Regions from separate parts of the Homo sapiens genome. Here region 1 is linked to region 2. Evidence: promoter capture Hi-C in 16 types of primary human blood cells and fetal thymus (Javierre and others, 2016). All regions are on one chromosome and are shown on one strand. Each heading gives the region's core, a stretch centred on a gene start or on the middle of the fragment in contact. The rest is flanking DNA. Distances are from core to core; before and after follow the strand shown. Region 1 has its middle 20 kb from the start of ZXDA. Region 2 holds the start of SPIN2B (spindlin family member 2B).

The links. The method cuts DNA at HindIII sites, captures the fragments that hold promoters and counts their contacts. A CHiCAGO score of 5 or more calls a contact.
Region 1: a contact is called between a fragment that was not itself captured here and the fragment with the promoter of SPIN2B in region 2, in 1 of 17 cell types (total CD8 T cells). The highest score is 5.2, in total CD8 T cells.

Annotation. Positions count from the first base shown.
Region 1 is chrX:57,888,540-57,892,591 of GRCh38, forward strand. No RefSeq gene overlaps it. Among named protein-coding and RNA genes, the nearest start is that of ZXDA, 20 kb to the right of the region's middle. The HindIII fragment of the contact is 7,004 bases long and covers 1-4,052 here.
Region 2 is chrX:57,119,631-57,123,737 of GRCh38, forward strand. SPIN2B (spindlin family member 2B) reads right to left here and starts at 1,918. Exons shown (of 2, transcript NM_001006681.2): 1 at 1,608-1,918; 2 at 52-1,001. The coding sequence starts at 999. The coding sequence ends at 223. It also overlaps a transcript of FAAH2 not described here. RefSeq lists a silencer at 2,086-2,205. The HindIII fragment of the contact is 2,706 bases long and covers 134-2,839 here.

The DNA.
Region 1 (4,052 bases), core at 597-3,096, 770 kb after region 2:
GGGCCTCTTATAAAACCATCAGATCTCGTGAGAACTAACTATCACAAGAACAGGATGGGGAGAACCACCCCCATGATTCAATTATCTCCACGTGGTCATCCCTTGACACATGGGGATTATTGCAATTCAAGATGAAATTCTGGGTGGGGACACAGCCAAACCATAATATTCTACCACTAGGCCCTCCCAAATCTCATGTCCTCACAATTCAAAACACAATCACACCCTTCCAACAGTCCCCTAAAATATTAACTCATTCCAGTATTAACTCAAAAGTCCAAGTCCAAAGTCTCATCTGAGACAAGGCAAGTCCATTCCACCTATGAGCCTGTAAAATCAAAAGCAAGTGGTTACTTCCTAGATAAAATGGGTACAGGCATTGGACAAATACATCTGTTCCAAATGGGAGAAACTGGCCAAAACAAAGGGGTTAGAGCCCCCATGTAATCATTAAACCTTAAAGTTCCAAAATAATCTCCTTTGATTCCATGTCTCACATCCAGGTCATGCTGATGCAAGAGGTGGGCTCCCATGGTCTTGGGCAGCTCCATCCCTGTTGCTTTGCAGGGCACAGCCCCACTCCTGGCTGCATTCACTGGCTGGTTTTGAGTGTCTGTGGCTTTTCCAGGTGCACTGTGCAAGCTGTCAGTGGCTCCACAATTCTGGAGTCTGGAGGATGGTGGCCCTCTTCTCATAGCTCCATTAGGCAGTGCTCCAGTGGAGATTCTGTGTGGGGGCTTCAACCCCACATTTCCCTTCCACACTACCTTAGCAGAGGTTTTTCATGAGGGCTCTGCCCCTGTATCACACTTCTGCCTGGACATTGAGGCATTCCCATACATCCTCTGACATCTAGGGGGAGGTTCTAAAACCTCAATTATTGACTTCTGTCTACCCACAGGCTCAACATCATGTGAAAGCTGTCAAGGCTTGGGGCTTGTACACTCTGAAGCCATGGCCCGAGCTGTACCTTGGCCCCTTTTAGCCATGGCTGGGACACAGGGCACCAAGTCTTGAGACTGCACAAAGCAGTAAGACTAGGAGGCCAGGCCTCTGGGCCTGTGATGGGAGGTACTGCCATGAAGACCTCTGATATGCCCTGGAGACCATTTCCCCATTGTTTTGGAGATTTACCCTTGGCTCTTCATTACTTATGCAAATTTCTGCAGCCAGCTTGAATTACTCCCCAGAAAATGGGTTTCTCTTTTCTATCACATCATCAGGCTGCAAATTTTCTGAACTTTTATGATCTGCTTCCCTTTTAACATAAGCTCCAATTCCAAACCATATCTTTGTGAATACATAAAACTGAATGCTTTTAACAGCACCCAAGTCACATCTTGAATGCTTTGCTGTTTAGAAATTTCTTCTGCCAGATACCCTAAATCATCTCTCTCAAGTTCAAGATCTCTAGGGCAGGGGCAAAATGCTTCTAGTCTCTTTGCTAAAACATAGCAAGAGTCACATTTATTCCAGTTCCCAAAAAGTTTCTCATCTCCATCTGAGACCACCTCAGCCTGGACTTCATTGTCTATATCACTCTCAGCATTTTGGTCAAAGCCATTCAACAAATCCCTAGGAAATTCCAAACTTTCCCACATCTTTCTGTCTTCTGAGCCTGCCAAGTCTCTAGGAAGTTCCACACTTTCTCACATTTTCCTGTCTTCTTCTGAGTCCTAAAAACTGTTCCAACTTCTGCCTATTACACAGGTCCAAAGTAGCTTGCACATTTTTGGGTAGCCTTGTAGTGACACCCCAATCTACTGGTACCAATTTATTGTATTAGTCCATCCTCACACTGCTATAAAAAAACTGCCTGAGACTGGGTAATTTATAAAGGAAAGAGGTTTAATTGACTCACAGTTTCACAGGGCTGGGGAGGCCTCAGAAAACTTACAATCATGGCCGAAGGGGAAGCAAACGCATCCTTCTTCTCATGCGGTAGGAAGGGGAAGAATGAGTACCCAGCAAAGGGGGAAGCCCCTTATAAAACCATCAGATCTTGTGAGAACTAACTCACTATCACAAGAAAAGGATGGGGGAAAACACCCCCATGATTCAATTATCTCCACCTGGTCCCACCCTTGACATATGGGGATTATTACAATTCAAGATGAAATTTTGGGTGAGGACACAGCCAAACCATATCAACTATACACTAAAAAATTAGAAAACCTACAGAAAATCAATAAATTCCTAGACACATACAACCTACCAATACTGGGTCACAAAGAAATAGAAAACCTGAGGACACTAATTGAATCAACAATGAAATGTCCCTTGACAGAGAAAAGCCTAGGGTCAGATATCTTTACTGCTGAGTTCTCTTCTTGCCCATGCTGTCTGCCTGATATAAAGAATTAACACCAATTCTTCTCAAACTATTCCAAAAAAAATTAAGAGAAGGTAACTCTAACTCATTCTATGAAGCCAGTATTATCCTGATACCCAAATCACCACAAAGACATAACTAAAAAAAAGTATAGGTCAATATTCCTGATAAATATAGATGCAAAAATCCTCAACAAAATACTATCAAACTGAATCTAACAGCACATAAAAAGAAACATCCTGATCTGTTGGTAGTTACTCCAGTAATACAAGGATGGTTTCACATATGCAAATCAGTAAATGTGATATATAACATGAATACAATGAAATACTAAAACCATATAATCATCTCAATAGATGCAGCAAAAACATTTGATAAAATTCAACATCTCTTCATGATGAAGACTCAGAAATTAAACAGAGAAAGAAGGTAACTCAACATAATTAAGGTTTTCTACAACCTGCACAGAGCTAACATCATACTGCATGGGGAAAAGATGAACCCTTTCCCTAAGAACTGGGACAAGACCTAGAAGCCCACGTTCACCACTCTAACTCACTATGGTACTGGAAGTCTTATCTAGAACAATAAGGCAAGACAAGGAAATAGAAGACATCTAAATTGAACAAGAGGAATTCAAATCCATCTTTACACAGAACACAATCTTATATATAGAAAAATCTTTAAAATGTTAGGGATCAAAATATCTGATGAGATGCTGGTAGTCTGTGCTTCCTCCACAGAGAGGAATTAGAATAGTTAAGTGGATACGCACATTTTGAACAGATCGTTTAGCAGGGAATGCTAGGATTCACTGAAGAAGTGAAAGAAAGCACCAGAAGGAGAGGGTTCGAAGCAGCTTGCCTGGCTGGGAACTAGCTGAGAGATGGGAGAGGCTCCTGGACATGGAAAACAGTAAGAGAGAAACACTCAGGGTTCCACACTTTGTAATGGGCTTTTACAATGTTGGTTATAGGAGAAACCTCTGACCTACTAGGGCCTCAGGCCTGACATACAGAGCTGCCTGAAAACTGGACAAAGACATTACTCCAGAAAGGGAACCAATATGGAATCCCACAGGTATCTAAACCTAAATAGACTCAGCTGGGTGCCATTTTGAGAGCCCTAATACTGGGGATCTATAGACACAGTTACTGCTGCTGTGTTGCTCCAAGGGGGAAAAGGGAAGAGCAAGTGCTCCCAAGCACCCCTGGGAGGGTCCCTACTGCTCTGCTGTGGGCTGCTGTTGAGACTGAGACATGAGAAGACTGCACTTCCCACAGCTTCTTGGCCATGCTGCTAGCCTGAGAGGTGCCCTGTCCTCATGCTGAGTTCAGGCTGATGTGGCTGCAACTGCCATCGGGCCAAAGAAGGTTAAGAAGAATCAGCTTTTCTACTCATATATCTAAGACAATAGCCACTACCCTGCAATGGGATTCTGTGAGACTGAGACATGAGTGAACCAAACTCCCCAAAGTTTCTTGCCCATGCTGGTTGCATGAAGGTGGGGCGGCGGGGCGGCAGGGGGCGGTGGGTGGGGGGGGCGCTCCTCCTTCTCTTGTCCCAGGCCCAAGGCAACATTTTGAAAGTTTAACGCTGGGCTGCACCCTGCCCTCATGGTGAGTTCTAGCCGTCACCGCTAGAGCCACTTACCAGCCAAGGAGGAAAAGTGAAACCAGGCTTTCCTATGCATGTCTAGGACAATACCCATTGCCCTGCA
Region 2 (4,107 bases), core at 668-3,167:
ACCAAACACACCCGATCTTTTCAACAAGACAAAGGGCTTACACACAGCATGTCATGTACACACAAGTTTGTATTTTTTAGAGCAAAACAACAGTTAATGCTGGCAAAGATGTTTAGTTATCAGGGATTCCATAAGCTTTCAATACACTGAAAGGCAACATTTTTTGCATGTCTACAAATTATACATTTGTTTCCACACATGTGCCAAATTTTACCCTAACAGTTAGGACTTTTTCACCAAATCGTAGACATAGATATGGAAATCATCATCAAACTTGATGAAATACACAGAGGGTTTGGCTTCCACTTGGTGAATGACCATGCCGATCCTTTTGGAGCCATCTTCTTTGGTATATTCCACATGCTTACCTATTAGGCCATCTACAACTCCTCCTGGCTCCCTCTCTGTTGGAGGAGACTCACTGGATTCTGGCATGATGCGGAGGTCACCTTCCTTATAATCATCTAGAAGCTGGTACATGTACAAGACAGGATCTTTCTCATAGGTAATATAAAACCAGGCTTTCATGATAGGTGCTTGAGCTAAGACCATCCCCCTCCATTCATCCTTAGAACCATGCTCTCCCTCAAACATATGTTCCACTGCTTTGCCAATTATGGTATTTGCAAGGTTGGCATCACTAATGTGAGATGATGCCACCCTGTCAGAAAGAATTTTAAGAGACAAAACCCTTTCATCTCTGTGAAGTTCCAGTCCATAGACACAGTCAATTCCATCATATTTCACCAGATAAAGAGAGGGATTTATAGGCACCTGATCCAGAACGGTTCCTTTCCACTGCGTGATGGGCTCATCTCCTTCCTTCCATCCATGAGAAATTCTGCAGCCCACGATGTTCCTGCGGGGCTGGGATGAAGGTCGGCCTCTCTGCTTCTTTTGGGAGACTTTTTTCTTTGTCATGTTTGCAGACCCAGTGGCCCGTCCTGCAGCTGCCCTGGTTTGTTGCCCTTCGGCTTCCTGTGCGTTGGGGGTCTTCATGCCTGCTGGGGGAGGAGAGAGGATAGAGAGACACACCCAGTGTGCCACAAGGCAAACTTTTCCCTATAGCCATGTCTGGATGTAGTCTGCGCTAGTGCCTAAGTTTCCCCTAGGAGCCTGGAAGCAATGCTGGAAATCCTGGCTGCATGCCCGCAGTGCTCTCCCTCTTAAGTTCCTTTGGGCTGTGGGGAAGGGCTGGGGTGGTGCAGTAGAGCTGTCTGGGGTTAGGAACTCTGCAGAAGTGGCTGGGCCACCTCCTCCTAGCTCAGAGCCCACTGCCCTCCCGGAACCCCTTGCTACCACTGGCGTCCACTTCCAATCCCCTTGCAAAGAGGCCTTGACCGGCACCCACTGCCCTCCTTCCCTGAGCGTCCCAGCTGCTGTCCACAACACCCCCTGCCTACCCTAACCACTTCTCTGGTACCCACCGCCCTTGCTTCCCGGCGCTCACCTTCAAATCCTTGTCTGGCTCCCGTTCCTACCCCCTTTTCATGTTGCTCACCGCACTCCCCCACCCCACCCTTGCCTGGCGCCCAACTCCACCCCATGTCTCCTGCTGGATTCCTTCCCATCCCCCTCTCCATTCTGGCGCCCACTAATGGCCTTGCCCTGCCTGGCGTCCACCGCCGGGGATCGCGGGCCTCACGTGCCCAAATCGGACACCTCGCTGCTGCCTCCGCTACGAGCCTGTGGCGAAGGAGGGTCAGCAGGCGACCGGCCGAGTGAATGCTTGCAAGAGCGGGGAGGGTAGGATCCGTAGATGAGGAGCGTGTCTAGGAGGGCGGCGAGACAGGCAAAGAGGAAGGCAGCGGCGTCCCCACCGCTTGGCTCGCTAGCCCTCCGCCTCCCTGCTGGCGGTGGCGGCCCCTCAGCCACATCGGGATTCCACCAGTCCCTGCTGTCGCCGCGGCAGTCTCCTCCCTCTTTCCGTAGCGCAGCTTCCTGCCCAGAGAGAGGCCTCCTCTTCCTGTCAAACACCCGGCTCTCCTCTCCACCAGGCTCCCACGCCCACCACACAGCCTGTAGCCCCGGCGGAGCTATGGGCTCTGACTCCGCCTCTTTCCAAATCCGGAGTAGTTCGTGCCACAGTCGTCCTCGGAACCCTGTGGCCCCTTCCTCACCCGTTTCAGGGCCACTTGGTTCCCACCTCCACCTTCTTAGTCTGCCTGCCCTGCTTTCCATCTTCTTGGAATTCGCCTTGCTGCCGCCCCGCGCCCACCCCCGCGCCCACCCCTGCCCCTGCACCGTCCCATGCCCTTATGGATTTATTCTTTACACGTAAATATGTCTTTCCTCTTTTTGAAAGGATTTGGAGTTGGAACAGAGAAATTCACTATGGTAAGTCTGCCATTTTGACCCAGTCTCTACCTAATTTTTGCTGACTGATATTTCCTGGCATTTTTGTTTTTGTTTTCGAGGGATTTTTTTTTCCTTTTCTTTATTGCAAGATAATTGCATGTACAACGTGAACACTATCTACATTTTAGGAAATTAATATTAAGAGGAAAATCATCAACTGCAGTCCCATCTCCCATTTTTGAGGGCCTCACAGCAAAATATTAATGCTCATAGTTTTTTTTCCTTTTTCCTAAACTTTTGCAAAACTGGGATTTGTTTTTTATCTGCAATTCATGTCTATTAATTTTTCCAGGAAATTAGATGTTTTCTAATCGATTTTTTCATTCAACAAATATTTATTGAGCACCTGTTACATATCTTGCACTTGGTCCGTAAAACTCAATTTTAAAGTGATTTATAATTTGGCTTTTCTCCCAGTACTGGGCATTTGACATAATATTTCCACAATAACCAGTAATCAGATCTATGTATCGGAATAGAAAGCTTTGCAAAAAAATAACTTTATAAGAAATAATTAAAGTTATAGTTTTATAAATCAGTGGAGAAACGTTGGGTATTCTTTAAGGAATGTTGAAATAATTATTTAAATATTTTGAGAAAGGTTGTATACTAATGTTGTACCAGTATCAATATTTGATTTATTAAAAGGTAAAAAGCAGCAAAATAAAATTGAACAGAAAGCAAATGAACCAACCAAAAACTCTGTAAACAAAACAATGCTTAATGGTATCTTTCTTATTCAGATACTTATGGTATTTGAATGAGGGGATGAGTCGGATGTTAACAGAACAACTACACTTAATAAAATAACATCTACAAGGAAAAATAGAAGTAATAATAATCTCGATTCAACAGTCAAAGTATGAAAGAACATTAAAATATTACTTAATGTCATTGATCATGAAAAAGCTTCATATCTAGTGCTGATGCAAGTGAAAGTTTATACAATTTTTATGGAAAGCAATTTGCAGATATGTCATAGTTTCAGTGAGGGCTTTTTATTTTATTTTCATTTTTATTTTTTTAAATTATATTTTAAGTTCTAGGGTACATGTGCACAATGTGCAGGTTAGTTACATGTGTATACGTGTGCCATGTTGGTGTGCTGCACCCATTAACTCCTCATTTACATTAGGTATATCTCCTAATGCTATCCCTCTCCCCTACCCCCACCTCACAAGAGGCCCCATTGTGTGATGTTCCCCTTCCTGTGTCCATGTGTTCTCATTGTTCAATTCCCACCTATGAGTGAGAACATGCGGTGTTTGGTTTTTTGTCCTTGCGATAGTTTGCTGAGAATGATGGTTTCCAGCTTCATCCATGTCCCTACAAAGGACACGGACTCATCATTTTTTATGGCTGCATAGTATTCCATGGTGTATATGTGCCACATTTTCTTAATCCAGTCTATCATTGTTGGACATTTGGGTTGGTTCCAAGTCTTTGCTATTTTGAATAGTGCCGCAATAAACGTATGTGTGCATGTGTCTTTATAGCAGCATGACTTATAATCCTTTGGGTATATACCCAGTAATGGGATGGCTCGGTCAAATGGTATTTCTAATTCTAGAACCCTGAGGAATCGCCACGCTGACTTCCACAATGGTTCAACTAGTTTACAGTCCCACCAACAGTGTAAAAGTGTTCCTATTTCTCTACATCCTCTCCAGCACCTGTTGTTTCCTTACTTTTTAATGATCGCCATTCTAACAGGTGTGAGATGGTATCTCATTGTGGTTTTGATTTGCA